Linked DNA regions of Homo sapiens: regions 2, 3, 4, 5, 6 and 7 are each linked to region 1. Evidence: promoter capture Hi-C in 16 types of primary human blood cells and fetal thymus (Javierre and others, 2016). All regions are on one chromosome and are shown on one strand. Each heading gives the region's core, a stretch centred on a gene start or on the middle of the fragment in contact. The rest is flanking DNA. Distances are from core to core; before and after follow the strand shown.

Evidence for each region. Contacts are between HindIII fragments. The CHiCAGO score rates a contact against its expected background, and 5 or more counts as called.
Region 2: a fragment that was not itself captured here is called in contact with the fragment with the promoter of ABT1 in region 1 in 2 of 17 cell types (M0 macrophages and non-activated CD4 T cells); the score reaches 7.9 in M0 macrophages.
Region 3: a contact is called between the fragment with the promoter of H2AC15 here and the fragment with the promoter of ABT1 in region 1, in 1 of 17 cell types (M0 macrophages). The highest score is 5.8, in M0 macrophages.
Region 4: a contact is called between a fragment that was not itself captured here and the fragment with the promoter of ABT1 in region 1, in 1 of 17 cell types (total B cells). The highest score is 5.6, in total B cells.
Region 5: a contact is called between a fragment that was not itself captured here and the fragment with the promoter of ABT1 in region 1, in 1 of 17 cell types (M1 macrophages). The highest score is 5.4, in M1 macrophages.
Region 6: a fragment that was not itself captured here is called in contact with the fragment with the promoter of ABT1 in region 1 in 1 of 17 cell types (M0 macrophages); the score reaches 5.4 in M0 macrophages.
Region 7: a fragment that was not itself captured here is called in contact with the fragment with the promoter of ABT1 in region 1 in 1 of 17 cell types (M0 macrophages); the score reaches 7.0 in M0 macrophages.

Annotation. Positions count from the first base shown.
Region 1 is chr6:26,594,907-26,599,253 of GRCh38, forward strand. It overlaps ABT1 (activator of basal transcription 1), which reads left to right and starts at 2,047. Exons shown (of 3, transcript NM_013375.4): 1 at 2,047-2,317; 2 at 3,008-3,204; 3 at 3,359-4,347. The coding sequence starts at 2,077. The coding sequence ends at 3,739. It overlaps TRY-GTA6-1 (tRNA-Tyr (anticodon GTA) 6-1), which reads left to right; the gene lies at 1-56. RefSeq lists enhancers at 929-1,078, 1,179-1,338, 1,896-2,335. The HindIII fragment of the contact is 8,276 bases long and covers 1-4,347 here.
Region 2 is chr6:27,895,399-27,899,745 of GRCh38, forward strand. It overlaps the pseudogene RNU7-26P. Among named protein-coding and RNA genes, the nearest start is that of H2BC17, 4.1 kb to the left of the region's middle. RefSeq lists a cis regulatory region at 126-410. The HindIII fragment of the contact is 585 bases long and covers 2,308-2,892 here.
Region 3 is chr6:27,836,431-27,840,777 of GRCh38, forward strand. It overlaps H2AC15 (H2A clustered histone 15), which reads right to left and starts at 1,945. Exons shown (of 1, transcript NM_003510.3): 1 at 1,450-1,945. The coding sequence starts at 1,909. The coding sequence ends at 1,517. It overlaps H2BC15 (H2B clustered histone 15), which reads left to right and starts at 2,139. Exons shown (of 1, transcript NM_003520.4): 1 at 2,139-2,680. The coding sequence starts at 2,232. The coding sequence ends at 2,612. RefSeq lists enhancers at 75-1,012, 1,101-1,190, 1,261-1,310, 1,581-1,690, 1,761-1,850 and 3 more. The HindIII fragment of the contact is 16,643 bases long and covers 1-4,347 here.
Region 4 is chr6:27,819,849-27,824,195 of GRCh38, forward strand. It overlaps H4C11 (H4 clustered histone 11), which reads left to right and starts at 4,244. Exons shown (of 1, transcript NM_021968.4): 1 at 4,244-4,347. The coding sequence starts at 4,277. RefSeq lists an enhancer at 3,964-4,103. The HindIII fragment of the contact is 175 bases long and covers 1,980-2,154 here.
Region 5 is chr6:27,797,841-27,802,187 of GRCh38, forward strand. No RefSeq gene overlaps it. Among named protein-coding and RNA genes, the nearest start is that of TRQ-TTG3-3, 4.1 kb to the left of the region's middle. The HindIII fragment of the contact is 618 bases long and covers 1,681-2,298 here.
Region 6 is chr6:27,771,378-27,775,724 of GRCh38, forward strand. No RefSeq gene overlaps it. Among named protein-coding and RNA genes, the nearest start is that of TRQ-CTG6-1, 18 kb to the right of the region's middle. RefSeq lists an enhancer at 1-281. The HindIII fragment of the contact is 4,434 bases long and covers 299-4,347 here.
Region 7 is chr6:27,696,730-27,701,076 of GRCh38, forward strand. The region is part of intron 1 of LINC01012 (long intergenic non-protein coding RNA 1012); the gene reads left to right. Among named protein-coding and RNA genes, the nearest start is that of LINC01012, 4.9 kb to the left of the region's middle. The HindIII fragment of the contact is 6,157 bases long and covers 1-4,347 here.

The DNA of each region.
Region 1 (4,347 bases), core at 797-3,296:
GTAGGGGTTTGAATGTGGTCATCCTTAGGTCGCTGGTTCGAATCCGGCTCGGAGGAGTTCCATTTTTAAAAGTGTCTCTTCTGGGCCTGAAATAAGGAAACTTGGAGAACGCATGTGCAGCTTGCTTATTCAGGAATTTGTAAGACGCTCAGAGAAGGAAAATAATCCACCCTGAAAATTGCTAACAAGGGTTGCTTCACAGACAGTTGAGTGGGACTCGATTTTCACCAAGTTGAGAAGGGATCATGAGGAATGTGGGGAACGGGAAGAACACGCTGCCCCAAGGCTTCATTTTTTTTTTTTTGTCGGTTTCACGGTCCTTTAGCACCCCCTGTTATATTGATACTTGGTGTGAATAAACATTTTATTAATGATAATTTCAAATATATACAAAGTAGAGAAAATAGCTAATAGCTACCATTAGCCACCACACTGGCACAACTTACCGACACTCTTGCATCCATCATGCCCCTCCCCTAGCTCCAGATCTTTTAAAGCCACCCCAACACGTGTTCTCATTTCATTAACTGTACTGTGTTTTGAAGATGTCAGTGTTTATAATTAAATAGCAGTAGACGGAGTTTATCGCTCTCATCGTACCCCGCTCCTCTTCAAAAAAGGAGCAGTGGACACCTACCTGACAGAAAGTTCTCTTCAATAAAGTTAATGAAACAGGCGTGTTTGAATTCGAGAAGTCTATTATTAGACTTTTAGACACTCCATGAAAGAGTGCAGGGCCCTGTTACTTTAGAAATATACTTGGGGACTGGCAAAAACTGTCATCTCTGATTTTAATAGTGGACACATTTACTCCCTGCTTCCATTCTCTGGGCTACTCTGCGCTCTTGGAGCGAGATGGGAAATTTTGTCAGGCCGCAGCAAGGACGGATTTATGTTGATAGTCATCAAACTCGCCCCGGGCTGCTTCCAGAAAGCTAACCGGATTACTTGTACGCGGTTCCCAGCACTGTCCTTTGCAGTCAGCTTGTCGCTGGCGCCGATGGGAAGAACTGAAACGCCTCAAGGGTGGGGACGGCGCCCCCTGCTGGTCGCGCCCTCGGGCGACGATAAGAGACTGAGGACCCGAGCCCGCGCGGGGAAAACTGCCCTGAGCTTGGCTTAGGGATGGTCCGCAGGCCGCCTGGTGGGAGCAGGACCGCCGTGGCCCGGTCCGTTCTGCGGTTGCGTAGGTCATAGAAGGAAAAGTGGTTTGTGATCTGATAGGGAATCTGAGGACAGACCCAGGGAGAGCAGAAATAAGCGCGCCGCCGGGGGGTCGCCAGAATTGGAGGCTTGTGCGCCTCTGACAAGTATTTGCAACATAAGTATGCATATGGATAATGTATCAATACACACGTGTAATAGATGCCAAACAAATTCTTCAAATAATTGTCACACATTTAAATTTTCAGACATTCACAAAATCAAATGTAAAATATTAAACTGAAAGTTCACAACTTAAATTTTCAAAAATTAAATCTAATTAAATTTCCAAAGTTGAACTGTTTTCAAAATTAAATTTTAAAATATTCAAAATTCCGAGGTAAATTTCCAGAAATAGTTAAAACCTCAAAACTCAAAATTTTTAAATGAAATTTATAAACTTTAAAAGGTGAGTCATTCCTCAGCTGGAATCGCACCCGGGGCCCTTGAATAAAATGCTATTTTGATCGCTAGAACACATAGAAACTTCTCTAAAATTGTTCTGCAAAATTCCCTAAAAAGCCGGCATCAACCCGCCTTTTAGCGTCTCGACAAGGCGTTCTATAGGGTAGGTTATATTTGGGGATCTGCCTTTTCTGGTTCTGCCTGTCCTGAGTTGGAGATCTGACCGGGAATCTGAGCCTAACCCAAGTTTCCCATCCCGCTTCCACGCTCTGAATCAGGCTTCCGACCTGACACACCACTTCCTCCCTCTCCCCTCGGCCTTCCCCTGGACCCGACTGTATTGCCCAATCATTTCCTTTCATTTGTCATCACCACCTTGGACCCGCCCCCTCGTCTCAGGCCGTCGCACGCGTTTTGCGTCAGTTGGCAAGGCACTTTACGGCCGTCGTGCCGCTCGTGTCAGTCAACATGGAGGCAGAGGAATCGGAGAAGGCCGCAACGGAGCAAGAGCCGCTGGAAGGGACAGAACAGACACTAGATGCGGAGGAGGAGCAGGAGGAATCCGAAGAAGCGGCCTGTGGCAGCAAGAAACGGGTAGTGCCAGGTATTGTGTACCTGGGCCATATCCCGCCGCGCTTCCGGCCCCTGCACGTCCGCAACCTTCTCAGCGCCTATGGCGAGGTCGGACGCGTCTTCTTTCAGGCTGAGGGTAAGTATGCAGGCCCTGACGGTGACAGGAGGAGGTTGTCGCTCGCTGGCGGGGTGCAAGCATGCATGTCCTGTTGCTTCGCTGCGCGAGGCTGAGGCACGAGTTGCTGGATTTTGGGGGTGGGGAGTGCGGTGCTTGGCTCCTGGCTGGTGAATCAGTCTGTGAGGATGCTGGGGTGGGCGGGCGGAGGGGATATGGGGAGAGTGGGTAGCGCAGTGTGTCTGGTGGTTCTTTAGTTCTCGGATTGTTACTATTTGTGTTCTTATCCCGGCTCTGTTCACCTCTCTTTCCGGACCTGTTTACTGGTTTGTTACATGAATACAACCTGAGTAAAAGTCTCGTCAGCTTTTCTACAAAACTGAACATAACTCTTTAGCATTGCTGCCTAGGTCAAGAAACTATTTGATCAACCGCCCCTCTTCTTTCCACCCTCAATTTTACATTGAGGCTGAGGACTTGTGCCGGTTTTAAGCAGCGTTCAGGGCTGGCCAGATTAAGGAGTGGACAATTAAGGAAAGAATTGAGTTAGCTAGAGGAAAGGGTGCGATTTACAGTTCCCTTCCTCCTGGGCAAAAACTCTTCAGGTGGGACTCCCACTGGCAGATGTGAAGAACGTTGCGGGCAGTGGGAGGTGCTTTTGAGTGAGTGCTGCATAGGCGTCCTGGACGGGTCTTTGTCTTTGGCGCGCAGACCGGTTCGTGAGACGCAAGAAGAAGGCAGCAGCAGCTGCCGGAGGAAAAAAGCGGTCCTACACCAAGGACTACACCGAGGGATGGGTGGAGTTCCGTGACAAGCGCATAGCCAAGCGCGTGGCGGCCAGTCTACACAACACGCCTATGGGTGCCCGCAGGCGCAGCCCCTTCCGTTATGATCTTTGGAACCTCAAGGTGAGAAGATAGATCTTTCTGCCACACCTCTCACCCTCCCTTCTCCCCAACTCTGGCCCAAGTATCCCCATGGCCTCTCATTGGCCTTGTCCCCTTGTCTCATCTTTCTCCCTAATCTGCACTATCCTGATCTTTTCTTCTTTTCTGCCCACAGTACTTGCACCGTTTCACCTGGTCCCACCTCAGCGAGCACCTCGCCTTTGAGCGCCAGGTGCGCAGGCAGCGCTTGAGAGCGGAGGTTGCTCAAGCCAAGCGTGAGACCGACTTCTATCTTCAAAGTGTGGAACGGGGACAACGCTTTCTTGCGGCCGATGGGGACCCTGCTCGCCCAGATGGCTCCTGGACATTTGCCCAGCGTCCTACTGAGCAGGAACTGAGGGCCCGTAAAGCAGCACGGCCAGGGGGACGTGAACGGGCTCGCCTGGCAACTGCCCAGGACAAGGCCCGCTCCAACAAAGGGCTCCTGGCCAGGATCTTTGGAGCCCCGCCACCCTCAGAGAGCATGGAGGGACCTTCCCTTGTCAGGGACTCCTGAGGGCCTGGGTGGCCCCTTCCATTTCCTGGCCCTGCTCTGCTTCCTGTCTACCTCATACTAGAATGATCGTGACTACCCGGGCAGACATTTTACTGTGTTTCTCAGACCAAGTGTCTACTGATGGCCCAAACATGGAGTTTTGTGGGCTTCCACTGTCCCCACTCCGAACTCCTGTATGTGCCTGGCTGAGTCACCTAATTCATACTGTCATACTAGCATAATTATGACTATTGCATATGCTTGTTTTGTTTGACTCTTGGCTGCCTACGTCTGTAGGGTCCCCTGAAAATCCCACTTCCTGCCCCCAGAAAGGGCCTTTATTTCCAACTAGGAGGATAATGCCTAGTCCAGGCAATCTTTCTCTGTTTAGCAGTCACAGGTGAGGGTGGTATTAGCATCTTTTTTATGTAGAAAAAATTGAGTTAATGGGGTGGACTGGGTTGGGAAGAAATACATTTCCTAATGTATTTATAGAAAATAAAAATATTTTTATGTGCCTTTTTATTTTTGTTGGTGGGGAGGTCATTGGACAAGTTCCAACTTTCATCTTGTGTTCCCTTCACCTTCATATCCTGATCTTAGAGCCCCCCTCCCCCTGCCACCCACCT
Region 2 (4,347 bases), core at 1,350-3,849, 1.3 Mb after region 1:
CACTTCCCTAAAATGTTCTCTTCCCCAGTCCCCGTACCTTGTCATTAAAGTTTGGTGCCTCGGGCTTGGCGACAGAGCTTATCGACAAGCTAAGTTACTTGGAGAGCAGTCCCCTGATTTCATCATGTTCTTTAACTTGGCATCACATTTGCCCCCTCCTTTCATTCCTCTTCGCTCTCTTTTTCGAGATTCGTTTCTCCCTGCCCATCCCGCGTCCTTGAGAGAACATCTGAGGGGTGATTATCCTCCGAGTGGGTGAGAGAGTACGTGTGGCCTTCTCCTGCCATCTTGTGGCAAAAAAGCAAAAGCACAAGTTCAAGGCGTTGTGTTTTCCAGCCCCAGTTAAAATGCTTTCTTCTTAACTTTCTACTGAGTCAGTGGGCTAGGGCAGGGTTTCCATTTTTCACTCCTTTTAATTGCAGGATTCAAGTTTCTTCAAGAGTTGTTAGTGCGGAGGTTAAAAGGGAGCGGGAGGGGGGCGGGGGAGTTAATAGGAAGAGCGAGGAGTGGGTAAAGGAGAAAGTCCTGTTGAGCTTTGTGATCTGGTCAGAGCTGTCCAAAAGAAATAAACAAATAAAAAAAGCCAAAATGCTTTATACCCTAAAATAAATAATAATACGATCGTGCTTTCTAGTTCTATTAGATTAAGTCCCCACACTTACAACTCAATTTAACCTTAATTATCTGTTTAAAGGCCCTGTCTTCAAATACCAACCACACTGAGGGCTGGGACTTCGACATGAAGTTGTTTTCTTTTGTTTTGTTTTTTGAGACAGAGTCTCACTCTGTCGCCCAGGCTGGAGTGCAGTGGCGCAATCTCGGCTCACTGCAACTTCCACCTCCTGGGTTCAAGTGATTCTTCTTCCTCAACCTCCTGAGTAGCTGAACTACAGACAGGCACCTGCCACAGCGCCCAGCTAATTTTTGTGTTTTTAGTACAGACAGGGTTTCACCATGTTGTCCAGGCTGGTCTTGGACTCCCAAAGTTCTGGGATTACAGGCGCGAGCCACTGCACCTGGTCTGTTTTGGGGGAACACAATGAAGTCCATAACAGCACTTAAGACCATTTTCCATGCTTTCATCCCGACTTTCTATTCCAAGTTCTCCTTTATAAAATATCTACATTTAGCTTAATTTGCAGATAAGGTGACAGTTATGATATTCCTTAAACCAGAAGTTAAAAGTCAGTTGCTAACAAAGGCCCAGCACATTAGAGCAAAAACAGCTGGATATTAAAAAGCACGCCTTATCTCTATAAAGAGAGGTGCTATTTGCTATTTTTCTTGAAACACCCAGACTTCTGGCATATTTCATTTTTCCAGTTTTGATAGAGATACTTGACCAAGATATATTTCACTGTTTTCTTAATTCTGCTGTAAGAACAACCATAGCACAAGCATATTGATAAATGCCAACTAATATGGAAACTAACAGGACCAGTGGTAACTTGAGAACTGAAGACAAAACCTGTGCAATTTGATTTCACTGATTTCTCCCTTCTAGCAATGCAAGCACAAGGACAGTGTGACTTCCAATTTTTCAAGAGTATATGCAGCTTAATGTGAAATATTATAAATTTTCAATACTGAGAGCTAATAAAATATATATATCATGGTACAGACTATTAAAAAAAAATGTCTGTTGACTTCATCAAGTCCTTCACCTCTAAAGTAGAGATCTCATGAAGCCCTTCATCCTTGAAGTTGAGATCTCTGGACATTAACAAAGACTCCTGTATCCATGACAAGCTTTTCACCAAGCTGCTCTTTCTGCCATCAGGGCCCAGATCAAATGCCCCGGCCTTCCCAACTTTCTAAATTCTCAGCTGAAAATAATTCATTCCTCACTTGGCCCCTCTGGATAAAGCATCAGGCCTCACATACATCAGGCATTGAAGAGTTATTTTCTGCTAGTTAAGTAAACAGATACAGTGAACTAAAAGAAAAAACAAAAAATTCAGTTCTCACAGCTATGAGGTAAAAGTGGTGAAAGGTATTTGGAGTTGTTCATTGTGGATTGAGTAGTTACCTGGGTAAATAAGCCAGTTCTTTTCTATTTATGTTACATTTTCTTACTTTTTTATTAATGTTATTCTTTGTGGGGGTGGGGACTTCCCAGCAAAAACCAGAAGGCCTGCTAGACAAATTCTAAAAGAGCTGTAACACTATTTTTTATTATTAATATTATTCTTAATTGACAAATCATAATTGTATACATTTTTGACAGAGTGTGATGTTTTGATATATTGTTGGGGCTCAGAAACTATAACCCAAAATGAAGGCCTCAGCAGCAGCCTCAGAAGCAGAAGCTTTTCCCTGACCTCCTGCCCTTCCGTCTCTGATCTATCATTCTCCCTCAAGGTTAGCCACAGAAACTAGAATCTCTCTTCCCCAAGGCAGGTCATAAAAACCAGAATCCTTTTTCCCCAAAGCCAGCCGTAAAACCTACAAATATTACTCTAGCTCCCCTCACCCACCCTATTCCCCAAGGCTTTTTGTATGAAAACTGGCCATTTATGGTCAGAAATTATCTGCCCTACCTTGTTTGACTGTAGGTCATAAGACCCCTATTCCAGAGAGGGACCTGCCCCATACCCAGAAGGAAGGAATGCTGCTCAGAGAGGCCAAGAAGAATCTGGACAGACAGGCCTTGCTGGGTTTCCCTACTCTGTTTACTATCATTAGATCCTACCCTTCATGTCCATTCATTTCTACAAGGCTGTCCATACTTTATAGAACCTTAAAAACAATGGACAATTTCCCCTGTATCTTTAGGCCTTCATTTTGAAGGGCTCCCATGTCACGTACAACTGTGATCAAATAATTTTTTTTTCTTCTATTCATCTGCCTTTAGTCAGTGATTTTCAGCAAACCTTCAGAGGGTGAAGGGGAAGCTTTCCTTTACTGTGTAATGTAATTCAAGGAGTTTTTCTTTCTTTTCCTTTTTTTGCCTTCACTCTGTTGCTGAGGCTGGAATGCAGTGGCATGATCCCGGCTCACTGCAATCTCCACCTCCCAAGCTTAAGCCTCATGTCTCAGCCTCCCAAGTAGCTGGGACCACAGGTATGCACCACCATGCCCAGATAATTTTTGTGCTTTTCATAGAAGGGGTTTCACCATGTTGGCCAGGCTGGTCTGGAACTCCTGGACTCAAGTGATCCACCCACCTTGGCCTCTGAAAGCTGGGATTTTCATGTGTGAGCCACCGTGCCTGGCCTCTTGCCTCTATAATGTATACTGAAGGAGTCCAGGAAATATCATCCCAAAGTATGCCGCATTGTTATGCTGATTACTTCCCACTAAAGTTATTTGGGAAATAGCAAATGCACAGAGAGGGGCTTTTTCTCAATCTCCTTTATTTGACTAAATGCAGATTCTCCAGGAGAAAGAAGTCAATTAATCATGAAAATTCTTCCTAGGAATTTTTATCTATCTTGGGAAGTTTAACAGCAACAGAATTGGAACTGAGAAAAGACTAGAAATTGGCTCCTCCTCCAGATAGGCCACTATCTATTCTGAAAGTCCATTCCTGTTTTCATTATAGTACCCTTCCTAGGTCGCTCCAACTCCCCTTTCTCCTTACTCCTGTATTTAAATAGAGAAAGAATTTAAGTTATAAAGAGTTGATAAAATGCTGAATGATTCCGGTGATGAATGTGGAAAGGAGGTGGGGAGAGAGGAAAGCTAGTCTCAGTACCCTTTTCCTCCAAACCTGACCAGTTCTTGGCCAGAGAAATAGTCTCCCACACAAGGAGTCTCCAGGTGTGTCTAAGAAATTCTGAGGTTTGAAAATCTCTTTAGTTGGCATCCAAAAGAATAAAATGGGCAACTGAGGATTAATAATTTGAGGAATTAGAAAGTTTAAGTTCTATCCACTACTCACCCTGGCTGCCATCACCTCATTTTATGTAATTTACTGGATTGTCTGTTCTTCCTGGTCTCTTTTTCCTCAACTAAAAGTGATTTCCAAAGTCTCTTCCAGAAGAAATAGTTGGCTTCTGAAAATAGATCTCATCCATATGGATCACATGAAGCTATCACTAACAAATGTGACATATGATAAGATTTGTTTCAATCATGGAAAAAGTAGTTCTACACTGCCAACGTAAATAACAGAGGGAGGCTCTCTAAAAGAAAATATATTTTGGGGGAATAGAGCATTGTAATGGGAATATGCATGCCAGAGTAAACAAGTTGAGTATATAAGAAGGTAAAAAAGACAAGGTTAAAAAATCAATTATTTACATAATTGTTTAGAAAGAATTATCCTTGACTATAAAGATTGAGGACTAAACTCTGATTTTTATCTTGCCCAAATTCCCATCTAAGGGGTCTGGGGAGTCATAC
Region 3 (4,347 bases), core at 695-3,194, 1.2 Mb after region 1:
AGTCCATTATGACATGTATTCTTTGCCCAAGCCAACTTGAAGCTCCTTTTGGATAGAGACTTTATGTATCTGGATTAATATTGTATTCCCATTTAGGAGAGTGCCTGGCACACCATAGATGCTCAGAAAGATTCAATTGAACTCGAATAGGTAGGCCAAACACACACGGGGTCCTAAATTGTGCAGAAGGGTCAGATACCTAAATTTTGCTTCCATGGTCTTATGAAGTATAAACTAAAAGCCCAAGTAAGGAGCAAAGGTTAGTTTACCAATTTTATCTCTGGAACCCAGGTACACTGAAAAGTATTATTTAGCTAGCTTTCAGTCCTCTGTAATACAGAAAGTAAATATCTGACACTAGGTTCATTTGAAACACTCTTGCTCTGTCACACAAGCTGGACTGCAGTGGTGCAATCATAGCTCATTGCAGCCTCGAACTCCTGGGCTCAAGTGATCCTTCTGGTCTCAGCCTCCCGAGTAGCTAGGACTACAGGCTATGAGACGCCAGGCACGGTTAGTTATTTTACTTTTGTAAAGATCAGGCTGGCTTCGAACTCCAAGGCTCTAGCGGTCCTTCCGCCTCGGCTTCCCAAAGCGGTTCTGTTTACCGGATGGTGCCAAACAGTTCCAGGCTCTTGGTGCCCGGTAGAAATTGGACGACACACACACAGATAGCAAAGCAAAGCAGCAAAAGTTTAGTAAACAGAGTATTACACTCTCGGGGGTGGGAGAGAGCGGACTGACCTCTGCGAGGTGAGATCAGCGTCAGCTTGCTGTAGTTTGAGTCATTTTATGTGTGTGCGTGCGTGTGTGTATGTTTTCTGTTCCCAGTGCTGCCTAATCTATAGCCAGCATCTGCCCTTTTATTGATAGGTTTGTTGCTTACTTTGTCCTCTGTGGCTTGTGCCTCTATCTTATAATCTTAAATATATGCATGATATGTAGCCCATATGCATGAACCTTAAGTAGCTGATTATCATACGGGCTTTTGTTAAGGATACTTTTCCTCTCTAATACGCATGCCCATCTCTGAAGAGCTGCCTCTTAAACTGGTTTGTTCCAGATCTTGCCGGCCACGAGGTCCTTGCTCACATTATCTCTTTTGTTTCGGCTGCAAAAGGTTCACTGCTTGTTATCTCGCTTCTTGTTCACCCGCCCATCTACCTTACTTCTGCCCTTTGCTTTTACTTATTCTGCCCTCTAACTTTCAGCTCCCTTTGTTATTCTCTTGCCTCACTTTTCTTATTGTTTCAGCTGTATTGCAGGCGCGAGCTGCCGCGCCTAAATTTCTTGATGTACCGTAAACATTTCAATGTCTACTTTCTATCTCAAAACAATGTGGTGTAAAAGCCGTTTAGTTTTGCTTCATCTCCATACAGCATTCCAGTGCCATTGCAAAATGACTCGACTATCAGATAAAACTGAACACAGCTCTACTTGGTGAAAAAGTAGGTGGCTCTGAAAAGAACCTTTTTGGTTTGGACCGAGGTATGAGTAATGAACTGCTCCAGCCCCGCTACTTGCCCTTGGCCTTGTGGTGGCTCTCAGTTTTCTTAGGCAGCAGCACGGCCTGGATATTGGGCAGGACACCACCCTGGGCGATGGTCACTTTACCAAGCAGCTTGTTGAGCTCCTCGTCGTTGCGGATGGCCAGCTGCAAGTGGCGCGGGATGATGCGGGTCTTCTTGTTGTCGCGGGCCGCGTTGCCAGCCAGTTCCAGGATCTCGGCGGTTAGGTACTCCAACACCGCCGCCAGGTACACCGGCGCTCCGGCACCGACCCGCTCAGCGTAGTTGCCCTTGCGGAGCAGTCGGTGCACTCGGCCCACTGGGAACTGAAGACCCGCCCTTGAAGAACGGGTCTTAGCCTTGGCGCGAGCTTTGCCGCCCTGCTTGCCACGTCCCGACATGACGTAAAAAATTCAATCAGTAACGTTCCTGAGACTGACGTAACGCTAAAGCTCCGCTACTTATAGTCAACAGAGGCACGAAAACTAAGCTGTGCTATTGGCTAACATTACAGTTTCGCTTTAACCAATGGGATTGCGGTTTTGAAAAACACTTATTTTGATTGGACAAAGTTAATATACGTTTCCAGGACTCACCACTGGTTAAACGCACAACTTCATTCTCTACCCCACTTGCGTTAAGAAGCAGTGAATAAGCGGTAGGTTGACAGAGCTACCGTCTTCCTGTTTTTTTCCTCCAATTTTCCGGCAGTTACTCCCAGTCATGCCCGAGCCCTCAAAGTCCGCTCCTGCCCCGAAGAAAGGCTCCAAGAAGGCAGTGACAAAGGCCCAGAAGAAGGACGGCAAGAAGCGCAAGCGCAGCCGCAAGGAGAGCTACTCCGTGTACGTGTACAAGGTGCTGAAGCAGGTCCACCCCGACACCGGTATCTCGTCCAAGGCCATGGGCATCATGAACTCCTTCGTCAATGACATCTTCGAGCGCATCGCCGGCGAGGCTTCCCGCCTGGCGCATTACAACAAGCGCTCGACCATCACCTCCAGGGAGATCCAGACGGCCGTGCGCCTGCTGCTGCCAGGGGAGCTGGCCAAGCACGCGGTGTCGGAGGGCACCAAGGCCGTCACCAAGTACACCAGTTCCAAGTGAGCCCGCCCACCGCGGAACGTTCGGTCAGTCTCGGCCCACACCCCAAAGGCTCTTTTCAGAGCCACTCAGTCTTCCCAAAGAGAACTGGCACTCACTGTTCTTACAGCAGGTATTTCTTACTTGCTACAAAGACGATTTCCAAGATTCCTTTAGCCTTGTTAGAAACTAATTTTGGCTCAAGCCTCTAATCCCGGTTCGGGAAACCGAAGCGGGTGGCTCACCTGAGGTTAGAAGTTCGAGACGAGCCTAGCCAACATGGTGAAACCCGTCTCTACTAAAAGTACAAAAAAATAGCTGGGCGTGGTGGCGGACGCCTGTAATCCCAGCTACCCGGGAAGCTGAGGCAGGAGAATCGCTTGAACCCGGCAGATGGAGGTTGCAGTGAGCCGAGATCGGGCCATTGCACCCCAGCCTGGGCAGTAAGAGCGAAACTCTGTCTCAAAAAAGAAAGAAAAAGAAAAGAAATTAATTAGCACTGCAGTGTACTGCATGTTGCAGCAACGCTTGAGACAATTTTATATCTGAAGAAGGATGAGGTTTATCATCAGACAAACCTAGTAAAGGGAAAATTCAGTTCCTGTTGACCCCAAAGAAAATATAATACTTAAGTGTCACTGGTAAAATATCCACAGTGCTTCCGGCGCTCTGTCCCTAAACTTCATGTGTACTTTAGTAATGAAGCAGTTGGCACACACACAAACGTACAAATCGACTTGTTTGTTTTGAGAGTGGTGCTGTTTCTCCTCCCTTGTCCCCAGTTTGGATTTGCTAAATATTAAGATAGAAAGGCAGTAGAAAAAAGTTTGAACCCAGTTTACAGCACCGTACACGTCAATCGGGCTGAGTTGATGTCAATGGCCAATCCCGACACTGCGAGGGCAGTTTGAAACTTGGCCACCGTTTTCTCTGGTGAGTGTTCTAGTTGGGAAAATTCTTGGCAGTGCAGGTTTTTTGGAGGAATCTTGCTGTCTTACTCATTCCCATAATTCTCTTGTGTGGAATTCCTATTTATGAACATAGTTTCTATTCCCTACTTTTTCTGTTAGGGTCTGCTCCATGTTTTCTTGTCTGTGTCACTTGCGTTTACTGTATCTCTAGTAATTGGAAGAAATGTTAAAAGAAAAAAAAATAGAGGAGGAGAAGGGCTGTTCTCCATTGTTTTCCCCCACCCCCAACTCAGGAAATCAAAATGAGTGTCTTCATTTTAAACACTTAGGAGTGGCATATTTAAAAGTATTTTGGTCTTTGCCAAGAATCAGTGTGGGAACTCTTCCACATCAAATTGTATTTGCTGAAGGTTTTTGATAATATTTTTTATCCAGTAAGTGTACTCCAGTGACCCAACCATTCGATTCCTAGCTGTTTACATGAAAGAATATTTTGCACACATGCAACAGGAGACATATGAGAATGGAAAAAATGCCATTTTTAATAGATAAAAATACTAGAGGCAACTACATGTTCATGGTCAAAATAATGCATTTATTGAGGTACACACAGTACCTGGTTGAATTTTAGAAATGTAAGTCTCAGAAGGTTCATATATAATAACATTTTTTTTAAACTCAGAAGTAAAACCATGGCTGGGCATGGTGGCTCATGCCTGTAATCCTAGCACTTTGGGAGGCTGAGATGGGAGGTTTGCTTAAGCTCAGGAGTTCAAGACCAGCCTGGGCAGTATGGTGAGACCCTACCTCTTAAAATAAATAAATAAATAAATAAATAAATAAATAAA
Region 4 (4,347 bases), core at 817-3,316, 1.2 Mb after region 1:
AAATTAATCACCAGAGACAACATCAGACTCTCATCAGCCTGGAGAGGGCACCAGAGCAATCTGCATAACAACTTTACTAACCAGCCTTTATCTACCATTAATTTCGTATATATTTGCCTTCCCACAATTTGTCACTCCTAAAAACTCAAAATCCTTTTCCTTTGTCTTCTAATTTCTCTAAAAACTTATTGATCTTATTAAAGATGCTGTATATAAACTGGAGTTTTAAGTCACATTTTTTAGTTACTCATTTCTGGGTACACTCACATGAGACATGTGCTGTACCCATGTTAATAAACTTGTTTGTTTTTCTCTTCTTAATCTGTCTTTTGTCACAAGGGCTCTAGCTGAGAACTCAGAAGTGTAGAGGGAAAATATTTTTTTCCTCCCCTACATGAGGCTTCCAGGAAAACCAGGTTTTCCTGACAAAATTAACGACAAACTTTGACAAACTTTCTACTCTCTTAGGTATCTTCTTGGTTTTCCAATGTTTTTCTTTCATATCTTAAATCTGTTTACTATGTATGTCTTCATTTTAACTGTATGTATAAACATATTCTCTTTATTGATATTGTGATGATGTTTGAAGTGTGAAATGAAGAACAGGCCTCAAAAAGAGTCTTCAGCCAGCCTCGGTGGTTCATGCCTGTAATCCCAGCACTTTGGGAAGCCGAGGTGGGTGGATCACGAGGTCAGGAGTTTGAGAGCAGCCTGACCAACATGGTGAAACACCACCTCTACTAAAAATCCAAAAAATTAGCCGGGCCTGGTGGCATGGCTACTTAGGAGGCTGAGGCAGGAAAATCGCTTACACCAGGGAGGTGGAGGTTGCAGTGAGCTGAGATCAAGCCACTGCACACCAGCCTGGGCGACAGAGCGAGACTCTGTCTCAAAAAAAAAAAAAAAAAAAAAAAGCCTTCATTTGATTATATTTGATTTTTATTTTAGCTATTAATATATTCTAATAGCTGTTTAGAAGTTATATCAAAACATAAAACTCTAAGCATTTATTCAAATATATTAGAAATTTAAATGACATAAAAATTGTTAAGTACTTTATTTGGACTAGTGCAAATAGCATAAATGTGAATTTAAATATATACAAAAAGTTAAGTAATTGAATATCAATAAAATATTAATAAACAGTAAATATAAATTTTCTATATGTGACTAGTGAGATCTACTAAGCTAGTCTAGCCATTTTTCTCAATTATCTCCATTATTTCCTAAAGTATCCTGTGGAGTAACTCTGATTGCCTTTACTCTCATTAAAAAGATGAGGAAATTAAGACAAAAACAGCAAAAGTATCTGCAACGAAGCCACAATTTCAGTCTAGGTTTGTTTGATTGCAGAGGCTGAACTCACTATTCTCCAAAGTAAATATTTACATGGAAACACTAAAAAACAAAGAAATTACATTTTAAATTGTGTCAAGATTACACTTTCTTTAGAGTTAAAAGAATTCCACAGTGTATCCATGCATGTAAAAAATATTAAATATATGAAAAGACGACTACTGCAATAGATAGGTATCATAAAGTTAATAGAATAATCTTCGGACTGTGATTTATAGATATTTTTTCAGTTTGCCTAATCTGAATTTCCTAAATTTTTAACTACGTACATGAATTTCTTTCTAGTTATTTGGACACCAACTGATGTACTTCAATTCAATTCAGGCACTGATTATTTGGAGTTAGCTGGACCTCACCAGTTAAAGGGCACATTTCCCAACAAGACTGTCCCAACTTCAGACGCCAGCTGCAAGTGGGGTTCCCAGGCCACTTGCTCTTCTGAGCAACTGGCTTCAAATCCAGGGATTCCCACTACCCCTTCATGTTCAATAATATGCTAGAATGACTCATAGAATATAGAAAGTGCTGTCCTTATGATTATAGTTTTATCATAAAGAATACAAATCAGGACCAGTCAGATGAAGAGACGCATAGGGCAAGGCTTGGAAGGGTCCTGAAAGCAAAGCTTCTGTGCCATCTCTATGTGGAACCAGGAGTCACCTCCCTAGGATATCTATGTGTTCACAAACCAATAAACTCCCTGACCTTGGTATCCAGAGCTTTTATGAGGGTTTTATTATATAGGCAGGATTGATTGAATCATTGACCATATGATTGAACTTGTTGGGGCACAGGGAAAGCTTCCCCTATGTACTCTGAAGCTTCACTGAAAATCACTGTCAAGAGGCAGATTAATAGAAGAAAAGGCATACACATTTATTTAACATGTACGCAGAAGCCTTCAGAATGAAGACCTAAAGATACAGGGGAAATTGTCCATTTTTATGCTTAGGTTCAACAAAGTATGGACAGCTATGTAGAAATATGACTGGACATAATGTGTATGATCTAATGCTAAGAGACTGAGTGGGGAAACCCAGCCAGGCCTGTCTAGATTCTTCTTGGGCGCTCTGTGTAGTATTTCTTTTGTATATGGGGCAGGGCCCTCTCTGGAACGGAGGTCCTACGACTTACAGTCAAACAAGGTAAGTCAAATAATTTCTTTGTGGCCAGTTTTTACACGAAAAAATAAAATTTTTAGGTTTCTTATTGTTTTTTTCTTTTCTTTTCTTTTCTTTTTTTTTGAGATGGAGTCTCACTCAGTTGTCTAGCCTGGAGTGCTGTGGTGTGATTTCGGCTCAATGTAAGCGCCGCTTCCCAGGTTCAAGAGATTCTCCTGCCTCACCCTCCTGAGTAGCTAATATTACAGGTATGTGACACCACGCCCAGTTAATTTTTGTATTTTTAGTAAAGACGGGGTTTCACCATGTTGGCCAGGTTGGTCTCGAAGTCCTGACTTTAAGTGACCTGCCTGCCTCAGCCTCCCTAAGTGCTGGGATTACAGGCATGAGCCAGCGCGCCCGGCCTAAACAAGCTTATATTAAAGATGACAATTTATTACTTATAAACAAATCAATAAATCTTGCTGGGTAACTAGTTCATTAACTCAAGACTCAATCAACAAAACTAAAAGTAAATTCTGAATGTAACATAGAATTTAAAAACCATAATACTCAATGCTGGTAAACATACACAGCAGTTACTGCTGGCAAAAGTGAATGGAATAAAACTTTTGAGGAAAATGTAGTAACAGTTATCAAAATACCTTAAAATCTGCATCCTTTGTGACAAAGCGCTTCAATTCTACATTTTCCTCAGGAAGTAAATTTTGTACAGTTCTCCTTTAAATTAGGAAAAGAAAATTAGCACATTATTGCTAAGTACTAGAAATACTGTGAAAGTGGACCTAGAAAATTCTTATGATGGAATATTAAGCAGATATAAATTACTGCTTTTAAAATTTTTCCTAATGTGAATTTTCTAAGCTTTTAACCGTGAACATAGATTCCCTTTGGCAAACCACCTTGATTAAATTATAGACAGAATAGAATTTTGGTAATAGTTCCGAGTATGTATAATGTTAAAGGTGGTACTTAATCCGCAGGGAAAAGATGAATTATTTAAAAAATCTGGTTGATTAATAAATTCCTAGGGAATTGGTTAACACTGTAGCAGGCAGAATTCAGGAGAAGAAATAATAAAGACATTAAAATCACTTTTGTAAACTTTTTAAATAAGGGAAATTGATTAAAACAACGCGAAGTTGTAAAATGCCATATACTGCATACATTTTGTGGGAAAAAATGTGCATTTATCTGCTCACCAAATTATCTTATTAGCTAGCAGTAGAGCTCTTTGTGTGATGGGAAGATGGGATAACAGGCTGTTGTTACTGTACTGGTTTTTTTTTTTAATATATTTAAAAAAAAGAGTGTCTCCTAAAGTGTAAGCGCTATCATGCTGGACTAATGTTTTAATTTAATTTAATTGTTGTCTTGGTAGAGATGGGGTCTCGCTATTTTGCTCACGCAGATCTCAAACTCCTGACGCCCAGGTACACTCCCATCTCGGCCTCCTAAAATGGTGGGATCACAGACGTCAGCCACCGAGCCCGGTCACTTTTTTGTATTCCCCACAGTATTGATGTATATCTTCTGCGTTCAAAAGCAATTTTTTAAAGCCTCATAACGTGGTAACAGAATACTTTGCACATTACAAAATTCAGAACACGGAAACAAGAAGCTCGCTTTTTTTTCCCCCCTATTTCGGTTTGGCCCTTTAGATTTCCCCTCCCCCACCGGGGCGGGACTTCCCGCCGACTTCTTTCAGGTTCTCAGTTCGGTCCGCCAACTGTCGTATAAAGGCGCTGCCTCAGGCCAGAGGCCTCACAAAGCGTTGGGTGAGACTCCTCTTGCTCGTCATGTCTGGCCGCGGCAAAGGCGGGAAGGGTCTTGGCAAAGGCGGCGCTAAGCGCCACCGTAAAGTACTGCG
Region 5 (4,347 bases), core at 740-3,239, 1.2 Mb after region 1:
ATGTATCTTCAAAAATGGTGTTTACAAAATTGTTGGCCTGGGAGTCTGAAAGAGTGGGATAAAATGCGGAAAAGTAAAAAACTTTAAGTAGATGATTAAAGAAAATTCCCCCAAAGATACCCTCTATGTGCTATGTACTGTTATTATATGAAGCAATAATAAGACATTTGTTGGGTATCATTCACTCAGTATTGCATTTAATGCACTGGTCTTGGTGATGGGGTACAGCTGAGACCAATACTCCTTTATTAGAATTTATCCCTTTATGCATCATTGTACAAGAATATCATTTGCTTTCCTAGATCTAGATCTTAGCAGGGGCAGAGCCATTTTCTCTTTTTTATTTTGTGGTGCATTTTTTCAGCAGCTATTTAGAAAATGTGCAGGTTTTTGAGGCTCTATGTAGGAATCATTTTGGGCTAAGAGCCAAGAAGGTGAACGATGAAGCTCAAAACTTCTTACCCACCCCATGGCTGTCTTTGCTCCCACCACTATGGCCTAACCTGCTGTTCCCAGAACATGCTAAGCAGAGCCTGCCTCTGGTACTTTGCACTCATAGTTCCTTCTGCCCCAAACAGCTTCCCCCAGGTAGCAATATACTCTCTCACCAGTTTATGCCAATGACAGTTCAATGAGACCTCATTTGTATGCCCTCCTTAAAAATGCAATCTCCAGCTCCCTATCCCCTTTCCTGCTGTATTTTTATCTAAACCACTTATCAAGGTGATGACATGTTATGGAATTTAATCCCACCTCAAAGTACCATAAGAACAGGAATTTTAGCAGGCTATTTTCAGCGTGTATTCTCAATGCTAATATATTGTCTCTCATATATTAAGTGCTCAATAAATGTTTTTTTGGTTAAGTAAGTTAATTTCCTTTAAGCTGGCTGATGGGGTCATATAGAGGTAAAATTACTGGCTCTGAGTGATTTTCCTCACTTATAAATATAATTTGCAGTAATTTCTATATTATTCTTTTCCTCTTAATGCATGGTGATAATTATTTCCCTGTTACATATGTCTTTTTTGTTTGTTTGTTTGTTTGTTTGAGACAGAGCCTCGCTCTGTTTCCCAGGCTGGAGTTCAGTGGCGCAGTCTTGGCTCACTGCAACCTCTGCCTCCCGGGTTCAAGTGATTCTCCTGCCTTAGCCTTCTGAGTAGCTGGGATTACAGGCATGTGCCACCATGCCCAGCTAATTTTTGTAATTTTAGTAGAGACGAGGTTTCACCATGTTGGCCAGGCTGGTCCTGAACTCCTGACCTCAAGTGATCTGCCCACCTCGGCCTCCCAAAGTACTGGGATTACGGGCATGAGCCACCATGCCTGTCCTACATATATCTTATTCATTGTCTTATTCAATCATACAACTTCCTGATAAAATGAGGCTGATTTTCACCCCTATTTTGCTGTTAAGGAAACTGGTATAATGAGTGTCACTGACTTGTTTGTGATCACACAGTGGACAAAATGGCATTTGTTTCTTTGTGGTGATCTCACAAAGGTCAAGATGACCTTAGATCCTCAGTTTTGGCTGTTTTTTTTTTGTTGTTTTTTTGTTTGTTTGTTTGTTTTACACCAAGGAACCAGGTTCTAGCTCCTATGTTTGTTCATTGCATGGAAAGGAACAGGAAGATCTGGGGGCCACTGAATGGAAGGTTAGATCCATTTTCTTGGTTAAGCTTGTAGGTTTTCTCGTCTCTTTTCCTTCCTGCAGCACAATTCTTATGAATGGCAATATCTTCTATTAAAATTCTCAGTCTGTAGTCTTCTTGTCCATACAGAAAATAGATTTCAGGTCAACACATTTGATAGTCTGGACTGTGCTAACTGCTCCAATATTTGAGTACATCTTTTGGGGATGTGGGAATTTAGTGTTGTAGGCCTCAAGTGGGGTTCGTTCCCAGAATTTGGAGAGGCTATAGAAATATAACCTGGTTGGCCAGGCACGGTGACTCATGCCTGTAACCCCATCAATGTGGGAGGCCGAGGCAGGTGGATCACCTGAGGTCAGGAGTTCGGGACCAGCCTGGCCAACATGGAGAAACCCTGTCTCTACTAAAAACTTTTAAAAAATTAGGCGGGCGTGGTGGTACGTGCCTGTAATCCCAGCTACTTGGGAGGCTGAAGTAGGAGAATCCCTTGAACCCGGGAGGTGGAGGTTGCAGTGAGCTGAGATCACACCATTGCACTCCAGGGCAACAGAGTGAGACTCCATCTCAAAAAAAAAAAAAAAAGAAAAAGAAATATAACCTGGCCATAATATAAGCATAAATAAAATAGATGACATTCTTTCAAAGCTTTTCTTAGCCTCTTATGTTTCTCAGATATTAAATAATCGGGCCAGGCACAGTGGCTCACGCCTGTAATCCTAGCACTTTGGGAGGCCGAGGCGGGCAGATTAACTGAGGTCAGGAGTTCAAGACCAGCCTGGCCAACATGGTGAAACTCCATCTCTACTAAAAACACAAAAAATTAGCCAGGTGCAGTGGCACGCGCCTGTAATCCCAGCTACTCGGGAGGCTGAGGCAGGAGAATCGCTTGAACCTGGGAGGTGGAGGTTGTGGTGAGCAGAGATCGTGCCACTGCACTCCAGCCTGGGCGACAGAACGAGACTTCATCTCAAATAAAAATTTAAAAAAAAAATAGTCAAATGCAAAATAAAGTAACATTCCAGCAATTTAATGACAGATATTGAAGCCACCTTTGCAAAATTATGACTGAGACAGAGAAAGAGATGGAATTTAACCAACTCCGTCTTGCTTCTAACCTCCAAGCCATCCTTGTTCATTCCTGGGTGTAGGCTGAACTAATTTAGGGAGAAACTTAGTTTGTAGTTTATAGTTTAAACAAAGATGGTAACAGCCCTTTCCCAAAGCAGACCTCCTTCTTGCCTTGGGACTGGATTGCCTTTGTAGGACTAACATTAGCCACAAGATTAAAAATTATGGCAGCTGGAGGCTACAAGATTCTAACCCTCCCTAACTGCTCCTAAGATCAGTGCTTGAGATATTTTGCAGACGCTGCACTCAAGATGGGTCAGATAGCACCACCCAGATCTATTAACTGGCTCATCTGATCCTGTAGCCCCCACCCAGGAACTGACTCAGCACAAGAAGAGAGCTTCAACTCCCTATGATTTAATCTCTGACCATTCAGCACTCCTGGCTCACTGGCTTCCCCCCATCCACCAAGTTATCCTTAAAAACTCTGCTCCCCAAATGCCCAGGGAAACTGATTTGAGTAATAAAACTCCAGTCTCCTGCACAGCCAGCTCTGTGTGAATTACTCTTTCTCTATTGCAATTCCCCTGTCTTGATGAATCAGCTCTGTCTAGGCAGCGGGCAAGGTTAACCCCTTGGGTGGTTACAATATGTACATGGGAAAGTGGTTGGCCTGCTTGGAATTGGAACAAAGGCAAACTAAGCATGATGATTATCAATGAGTTGCAGCCCAAAACCAACCAAGGAAGGACTATTAGTTCATGCTAGATTGCCTGTGTGGCTGTTTAAGACAGGATTCCACCAACAGTAAGAGAGACAAGTTTTAATCCCATTCAAAATTATGAAACTATTCCTTAGTAACCAGGCTGTTTCATTTACTTTGATTTGTTACTTACTAAAGCAATTTCTGATTAACAATTTGTGGTCAGTTCTAAGTCCAGGCACATCTTCCACTATAATTAACACAATGAGTTCTAGCTTTACTATTTTCTTATAAGTTTTGTTATTGTGAATATATCCTTCAGATGCAAGCATCCCAATAAAATCTCTGCTTGAAAAGGCCTGGTGCAATGGCTCACGCCTGTACTCCCAGCACTTTGGGAGGCCGAGGTGGGCGGATCACCTGAGCTCAGGAGTTTGAGATCAGCCTGGCCAACATGGTGAAACCCCGTCTCTACTAAAAATACAAATATTAGCTGGGTGCGGTGGTGTGCACCTGTAGTCCCAGCTACTTGGGAGGCTGAGGCATGAGAATCGCTTGAACGTGGGAGGCAGAGGTTGCAGTGAGCAGAGATTGCACCACTGCACTCCAGCCTGGGTGACAGCGAGACTTCGTCTCAAATAAATGAATGAATGAATGAATGAATAAATAAATAAATAAAATTCCCACCTGAAGCATTCCATCAGTACATCCAGGTTATAACAACCGACACTCATGGAAACATTGCAGAGGAAGGCAGGCTAGGGGAGAATGTCAGGTTTGCAGGACCTTCTTTGGTATGGTACAAATGTGTCCCCCAAAATTAATGTGTTGGAAACTTAAGCCCCAGTGCAACAAGGTTGGGAGGTAGAGTCTTTTGGAAAATGTTTAAGTCATGAGGGCTCTGCTTTCAGGAATGAATTA
Region 6 (4,347 bases), core at 1,266-3,765, 1.2 Mb after region 1:
AAAGTGGAAGTGGCTTTTGCATGGGAGCTCAGCCAGTGCCATGTACTAAGGGCTTTGGTTCTTTTCTCTGGAGGTGGATGACCTGACGGTACACAACTTAGGCTGCTGCACTGGTGTTTATTATGGTCATTCACTATGAAGGAACAGTGGGAGGCGTGCATATCTTTCAGAACTGCACATTGATTCCTGGAGAGGGATCTTGGGTTGTGGGACTTTCAGCTACATGATTAGGGAAACACAAGCCACAGTGTAATGGGGCATGGAAAAAGGCATATTATGCTAACATTAGTCAAAAGAAAGCTTGGAGTAATTTTAATTTCAGACAATGTAGACTTCAGAGCAAGGAAAATTACCAGGAATAAAGAGTGGCATTATATAATAATAAAAGGGTCAATTCTTCAGGAAGATATAACAATCCTTAAAGTGTATACGTTTGTGATGGGCTAAACTGTGTGTACCCCTGCCCTGCCCCCCATAAATTCGTATGTTGAAGTTCTAACCCCCAATATATCAGAATGTGAACATGTTTGGTGACAGAGTCTTTATAGGGGTGATTAAATTAAAATGAGGTCATTAGAGTAGGCTCCTTCCTCCGTCTCCCCCCTCCCATCCTTTTGGATTGGGGTCTCACCGTTTTGACCTCATTCAACCTTAATTACCTCCTTAAATGCCCTATCTCCAAATACAGTCACGTTGAGATTAGGGGTTTGGCACAGGAATTTTGATGGACACAGTTCAGTCCACAACAACCCCCATCCCTAAATTTACTTAGCTTTAAAACAGATACAACCGGCAAGACAACACAACATGAAGTGATTAGCTGACAATGTGGTGCAGCCTCTGGATGCTTAAGGTGATGAAAATATAATTAAGCCTGTCTGCATAGGTTCGAACCTGCCGGCTACAATCCTGTCCCACGTATTGACAGTTGTGAATCTCCCGCGGTGCATTTTCAGACGAGATCGGGCGCGTTCAGAGTGGTATGACCATAGACCCGCAGTGCATTTTCAGCCTCCCTCCTGGCCTATACCCGTCATGCAGACACTAACCAATCCTTAACCAACCTCATCCTGGCCTCTTGATTTGTAGAGTCTTCGCTGAGGGGAGGAGGGCCTTACTCGTGATGTGTAAGAAGAGCAGCAACCAAAGGCTAACGTGAGAGTCACTTTTCAAAGCACCTTTTCAGCAAACAAGAATCAGCTGTCGAGTTACCAGCTCCTGTGGCTCCTTCCCCGCAGTCTCCACCAGGCGGCGCGCCCCAGGAAGCCGGACGCCTGCTACCGCGGGCCGCGTTTCTTTGTGCAAACTCAGCAAGGCCTGGCAGCCTTGGAGAGCAGGCCTTTAGCAAGCCGCGGAAACGCAACTGGGTGCCAGGGTTACTCGTTGCATTTGTGGTGGGCAGAGCTTCCTCCAAGCAGTCAGAGGAAAGCTCTCTGAAGGTGTGTAATTTCGTTTGGTAATTAGCATATAATTAGGTCTTGGGTAGGGCATGGGTCAAATCCAGCGCCACGTTGGACTCAGACGGTTTCAGACAGCTTAGCCCTCATCCTGTTTATTAGGGTCTTATCAGCCCAAGCTCTTCCTTGTCCTTGTAGCTAATTTTAACAGCTCCTTTAGGAGCTGTTAGGAGCTTAGGAAAGCTCTCCGACTGCTTGGAGGAAAGCTCTGCCCATGAGACTGCTCGGAGGAAAGCTCTGTCCACCACTACAGCGCTAAGGATATCGCCCAAGCTCTTTGCTAAATGTCTCTTGGGAAAAAGCTCCTCATGAAGCAGGTAAGACTGATTTGTAGTTTAATGACCTGCAGGTCCCCACATGAACACGAGGAAAGGGACGTGCAAGGCAGTGTTGAAGAAACATCAGCAGGTCTATTTGAGGTTCTCACCAGGTATCTTTCCTGATGGTGGGATGGGAACTTGGGGCCCTGTTGTAATTCCAGATCTGGGAAACTGCTGATTTCTCCTTCCCCCCAACTCTCCATTCCATCTCCTTACCACTCTCGTTATGATAATTGTCCCATGGTGCATTAATTCTTTTCCAGCCTTGTCGTTCAAACACTTATGTTTCCTGTAAGTACCATTAACAGCTTCTCTTGAACTGGTTTCTCTAAAAATTCCTCCTTTACCTTTCTTCTAAAGTGTCGGATCCTTTACCTTTCAAAAACGAGGAATAGGTCTCGTGGCTCATGCCTAGCGAGACCTCATCTCCACAAAAAATAATAATAAAAAAATTAGCCAGGTGTGGTGGTGTGGGCCTGTAGTCCTAGTTACTGGGGAGGCTGAGGTAGGAGGATCACTTAAGCCCAGGAGGTCAAGGTTATAGTGAGTTATGATCGTGCCACTGCACTGCAGCCTAGGTGACAGAGCAAGACCCTGTTCCCCACCCTCTGCAAAAACAAACAAACAAAAAAGCATCCTGATAAACATAGACATGAAATTGAAACATACAGGTGAAGGGTCACAGATTTATGCCTCAGTCTTCTCATCTGTAAGACAAAGACAGCCTCATCACTTTTAATGAGGTGAGCGAATGAGGGAGGAGACCACCCCTCATATTGTCTTATGCCCGATTTCTGCCTCCAAAGAAAGAAGAAGTAAAAACTAAAAAGCAGAAATGAAATCCACAGGCAGACAGCCCGGCGCCACGCCCTGGGCCTGGTAGTTAAAGATTAACCCCTGACCTAACACTGGTTATGTTATCTATAGTTTCCAGACATTGTATGGAAAAGCATTGTAAAAATCCCTGTCCTGTTCTGTTCCGTTCTGATTACTGGTGCATGCAGCCCCCAAACATGCACCCCCTGCTTGCTCAGTTGATCACGACCCTCTCATGTGGACCCCCTTAGAGTTGTGAGCCCTTAAAAGGGACAGGAATTGCTCACTCAGGGAGCTCGGTTCTTGAGACAGAAGTCTTGCCGATGCTCCAGGCCAAATAAACCCCTTCCTTCTTTAACTCGGTGTCTGAGGGGTTTTGTCTGCGGCTCTTCCTGCTGCACATTAAGTGAGGTACACCACTGCATATTACATGGCAGGTGCTCAGTCTCCTCCTTCCACTTCCTCACTGGTTTTCTAGTGAAGAGAGAATGAAGGGGTGGGTTGCCCCTCCACACCTGTGGGTGTTTCTCGTAAGGTGGAACGAGAGACTTGGAAAAGAAAAAGACACAGAGACAAAGTATAGAGAAAGAAATAAGGGGACCCGGGGGACCAGCGTTCAGCATATGGAGGATCCCACCAGCCTCTGAGTTCCCTTAGTATTTATTGATCATTCGTGGGTGTTTCTCCGAGAGGGGGATGTGTCAGGGTCACAAGACAATTGTGGGGAGAGGGTCAGCAGACAAACACGTGAACAAAGGTCTTTGCATCATAGACAAGGTAAAGGATTAAGTGCTGTGCTTTTAGATATGCATACACATAAACATCTCAATGCTTTACAAAGCAGTATTGCTGCCCGCATGTCCCACCTCCAGCCCTAACGCGGTTTTTCCCTATCTCAGTAGATGGAACGTACAATCGGGTTTTATACCGAGACATTCCATTGCCCAGGGACGGACAGGAGACAGATGCCTTGCTCTTGTCTCAACTGCAAGAGGCATGCCTTCCTCTTATACTAATCCTCCTCAGCACAGACCCTTTACAGGTGTCGGGCTGGGGGACGGTCAGGTCTTTCCCTTCCCAAGAGGCCATATTTCAGACTATCACATGGGGAGAAACCTTGGACAATACCTGGCTTTCCTAGGCAGAGGTCCCTGCGGCCTTCTGCAGTGTTTGTGTCCCTGGGTACTTGAGATTAGGGAGTGGTGATGACGCTTAACGAGCATGCTGCCTTCAAGCATCTGTTTAACAAAGCACATCTTGCACCGCCCTTAATCCATTTAACCCTGAGTTTGACACAGCACATGTTTCAGAGAGCACGGGGTTGGGAGTAAGTTCATAGATTAACAGAATCTCAAGGCAGAAGAATTTGTCTTAGTACAGAACAAAATGGAGTCTCCTATGTCTACTTCTTTCTACACAGACACAGTAACAATCTGATCTCTCTTGCTTTTCCCCACAGAGAAGGCCCATGCAACACAGACCTAAACCCCTTTGAGAGGAAAATAGGGCATTTGGTGGAGGGGAGGGGAGGAGTCCTGGCTTGCGGCTATAAAAATGTTTTTCCACTCAGATTATTTTCTGAAAGAGGCTGAGATCAGGCACCTGAGTCACTGAAGGGTTCATGCTAGTGGAGTGAGAGGGCCAGGGGAACAAGGAAGGTGATAAATCTCATCTCTATTTGATAGGAATGCTGGGTAGTCATAGGAGAAACATCAAGCAGTAATTTCACATAACAGCAAAAAAGGAGCTGTTAA
Region 7 (4,347 bases), core at 1,376-3,875, 1.1 Mb after region 1:
TTGGGTCTGTGACAAATACACCAGGATGATCAGAATCTAGCCAGGAAGGGGTAGAGTTCATGAGAGGAAGGAAGTTGACATTGGCTGGTAAAAACAGACTCTTAAAAGAAACCTCTTTCAGGCGGTGGCTCACGCCTGCAATCCCAGCACTTTGGGAGGCCAAGGTGGGGGCGGATCATGAGGTCAGGAGTTCGAGACCATCCTGGTTAACATGGTGAAACCCCGTCTCTACTAAAAACATAAAAATTAGCCAGGCATGGTGGCCTGCACCTGTAATCCCAGGTACTCAGGAGGCTGAGTCAGGAGAATCACTTGAACCCGGGAGGCGGAGGTTGCAGTGAGCCGAGATCGCGCCACTGCACTCCAGCCTGGGTGACAGAGTGAGACCCTGTCTCAGAAAAAAAAAATAAGAAAATAAGAAACCTCTTTCAAAATAGGCTTTTGCCGGGCGCGGTGGCCCACGCCTGTAATCTCAGCACTTTAGGAGGCCGAGGCGGGCGGATCACGAGGTCAGGAGATCGAGACCATCCTGGCTAACACATGATCCGCCCCCCCTTGGCCTCCCAAAGTGCTGTCTCTATTAAAAATACAAAAAATTAGCCGGGCGTGGTGGCGGGCGCCTTTAGTCCCAGCTACTCAGGAGGCTGAGGCAGGAGAATGTTGTGAACCCAGGAGACGGAGCTTGCAGTGAGCCGAGATCGCGCCACTGCACTCCAGCCTGGGTGACAGAGCGAGACTCCATCTCAAAAAAAAAAAAAAAAAATGGCTTTTAAAAGAATATTTTTACTGACATTGAAAGTAATCTTGTATGTATGTGCTTATGGTAGAGGGAAGAAGAGAAAAGCTAGTGAAAGGAGAAGAAAGCTGACTTCCTGGAAGCTGTTGCAAAAAAAAGAATGATAGAATATTTTTTTTTTTTTTTTGAGAGGTTGTCTGGCTGTGTTACTCAGGCTGGAGGGCAGTGGTGCAGTCTCGGCTCACTGCAACCTCTGTCTCCAGAGATCAAGCGATTCTCCTGCCTCAGCCTCCTGAGTAGCTGGGATCACAGGCGTGCACCACTGGGCCCAGCTAATTTTTGTATTTTCAGTAGAGACTGGGTTTCGCCATGTTGGCCAGGCTGGTCTTGAACTCCTGACCTCAGGTGATCTGCCCACCTTGGCCTCCCAAAGTGCTGGGATTACAGGTGTGAGCCACCACACCCGGCTATTTTCACTGTTATTTATTTGTTAGGTGGCATACTTTCCAACTTTTTTCACAACACTCTATCTTAAGAGATTTCTATATTAATATACAGTGTCTTCATTTGTATATGGATATACCATAATATATTTAAGCCATTTCCTGGTGATGAACACTTGGGCTTTACTCATTTCCTGGTGATAGACACTAGGTTGTTTCTAATCTTTCACCACCACAAACAATGCAGTGAATAACTGTGTGTATGTATCATATATACATACACATATATATACACACACACAATTATATATGTACAGTTAACTATATATATAGCTTTATATATAAATATATACACACATAATCATATATATATACAGTAAACATATAACTGAAGAAACATATTTTTCCTTCATTCCCTGTATATAACACTATTACACAGAAAAATTTTGTTTTATTAAATAGCTAATGTCTGTTTTTTCCTAAAGTGTCACATTTCTTTAGGTCAGATGAACATAGATTAACAATCACATTTTAGCTGGGTGCCATGGTTTATACTTGTAATCCCAACGCTGGAAGGCCAAGGCAGGTGGATTATTTGAGCTCAGAAGTTTGATACCAGCCTGGGCAACGTGGCGAAACCCTGTCTCTACAAAAAAATTTAAAAATTAGCTGGGCGGCCGGGCATGGTGGCTCATGCCTGTAATCCCAGCACTTTGGGAGGCCGAGGCGGGCGGATCACGAGGTCAGGAGTTCGAGACCAGTCTGGCCAATATAGCGAAACCCCATCTCTACTAAAAATACAAAAGATTAGGCGGGCGTGGTGGCGGGTGCCTGTAATCCCAGCTACTCGGGGGGCTGAGGCAGGAGAACTGCTTGAACCCGGGAGGCAGAGGTTGCAGTGAGCCGAGATCACGCCATTGCACTCCAACCCGGACGACAGTGCGAGACTCGGTCTCAAAAAAAAAGAAAAAAAATTAGCTGGGTGTGGTGGTGTGTGCCTGTAGTCTCAGCTACCCAGGAGGCTGAAGTGGGAGGATTGCTAGAGCCCAGGAGGTTGAGGCTGCAGTGTGCTGTGACTGCGACAGAGCCTAGACGGGGTGACAGAGCAAGACCTGTCTCAGAAAAGAAAACAATTTTTTTTGTATTGTATGATGAGCTAACATATTGTAAACATATCCACTTTTCCATTCATGTTTAAATTTATATTGGTCCTCCAACCCGGACGACAGTGCGAGACTCCGTCTCAAAAAAAAAGAAAAAAAAATTAGCCGGGCGTGGTGGTGTGTGCCTGTAGTCTCAGCTACCCAGGAGGCTGAAGTGGGAGGATTGCTAGAGCCCAGGAGGTTGAGGCTGCAGTGTGCTGTGACTGCGACGGAGCCTAGACGGGGTGACAGAGCAAGACCCTGTCTCAGAAAAGAAAAATTTTTTTGTGTGTTGTATGATGAGCTAACATATTGTAAACATATCCACTCTTCCATTCATGTTTAAATTTATATTGGTCCTGCCACCTTGTTGAGCATTTTGCCTTTACTCTGCTTTGTATCGGGTGGTGGATTTGGATGGTGCTTATATATTGAGAGAAGGTTTATTTGCAGCTGAATTGTGCAGAAATGACTTTTATGGGAGTTGGCCTGGGTGAGCAGAACTAGCACTAGGTTATTCCTGATAACTTCTTTCTCTTTTTATAGACCTGCTTTGCTCAGAAAGGGAGATCAGGAGACCAGGTGATGCTGTAGCAAATGTCAGAGTCGAGTCCTAGGTAATATCCCACCTTTCCAGGATCTGCCTGCTTCATGGCAGCTGCCCCAATCTCCTTCACTTGGGCTAGACCCTGCCTAGCACACCACTAGTCACATGCATCTACTCAGGAATTGCAAGACCCTTCTATAGATGAATGAGATGTTTCTTGCCCAGCAGACTTTTCTCTTAACCGCCACTTTACACTTACCCTTCTTTCCATTTCTCTTCAGCCTTATTTAAACAAGCATAAACATCTTTTTATGAATCTTCTCATACTTGTTGTTTTTTTCTTTTTTGAGACGGAGTCTCGCTCTGTCACCCAGGCTGGAGTGCAGTGTTGCGATCTCAGCTCACTACAACCTCTGCCTCCTGGATTTAAGTGATTCTCCTGCCTCAGCCTCCCGAGTAGCTGGGACTATAGGCGCATGCCACCATACTCAGCTAATTTTTGTATTTTTAGTAGAGATGGAGTTTGGCCATGTTGGCCAGGCTGGTCGTTCCTTGCATGCATTTTTGTGCATGTGTGGCCTTCTCTTTAGAAAAGCAGGATCATGGGGTACGTTTTAAGAATATGGGATAGGTCAGGCTTGGTGGCTTATGCCTTTAATTCCAGCACTTTAGGGGAGGCTGAGGTGGGAGGATCATTTGAAGCCAGGAGTTGGAGACCAGCCTGGGCAACAAAGCAAGAACACCCACCCCATCCCTCTTTCCCTCAATTAAAAAAATAAAAAAAAATTAGTGGAGTGTGATGGCTTGCACCTATAGTCCTAGATACTCCAGAGGCTGAGGTGGAAGGTTGCTTCAGCCCAGGAGTTCGAGGTTACAGTGAGCTATGATTGTGCCGCTGTGCTCCAGTCTGTCTCTTCAAAAAAAAAAAAAAAAAAGAACGTTGGGTGTTTGAGGATGTGGTTGTGAACTGGGTTCTGGTAGAGTCAGGGCTTGCTCAAGACTTACCTTTTTCGGAATGAGATTTAAATATGGACCTTTTTAAAACAATTGTAATAAAATACACATAACATTTAGCATCTTAATCATTTTTTTGTTTGTTTGTTTGTTTTTTTGAGATGGAGTCTCGCTGTGTCGCCAGGCTGGAGTGCAGTGGCACGATCTCTGCCTCCTGGGTTCAAGCGATTCTCCTGCCTCAGCCTCCCATGTAGCTGGGATTACAGGCACATGCCACCACGCCCAGCGAATTTTTTTTGTATTTTTAGTAGAGATGAGGTTTCACCATGTTGGCCAGGATGGTCTCGATCTCTTGACCTCGGGGTCCGCCCACCTCGGCCTCCCAAAGTGCAGGGATTACAGGTGTGAGCCACTGCTCCCAGCCTATCTTAACTGTTTTTAAGTGTTCAGTTCAGTACTGTTAGTTACATTCACATTGTTGTGCAACCATCACTACCATCTAGCTGCAAAACTCTTTGCATCTTA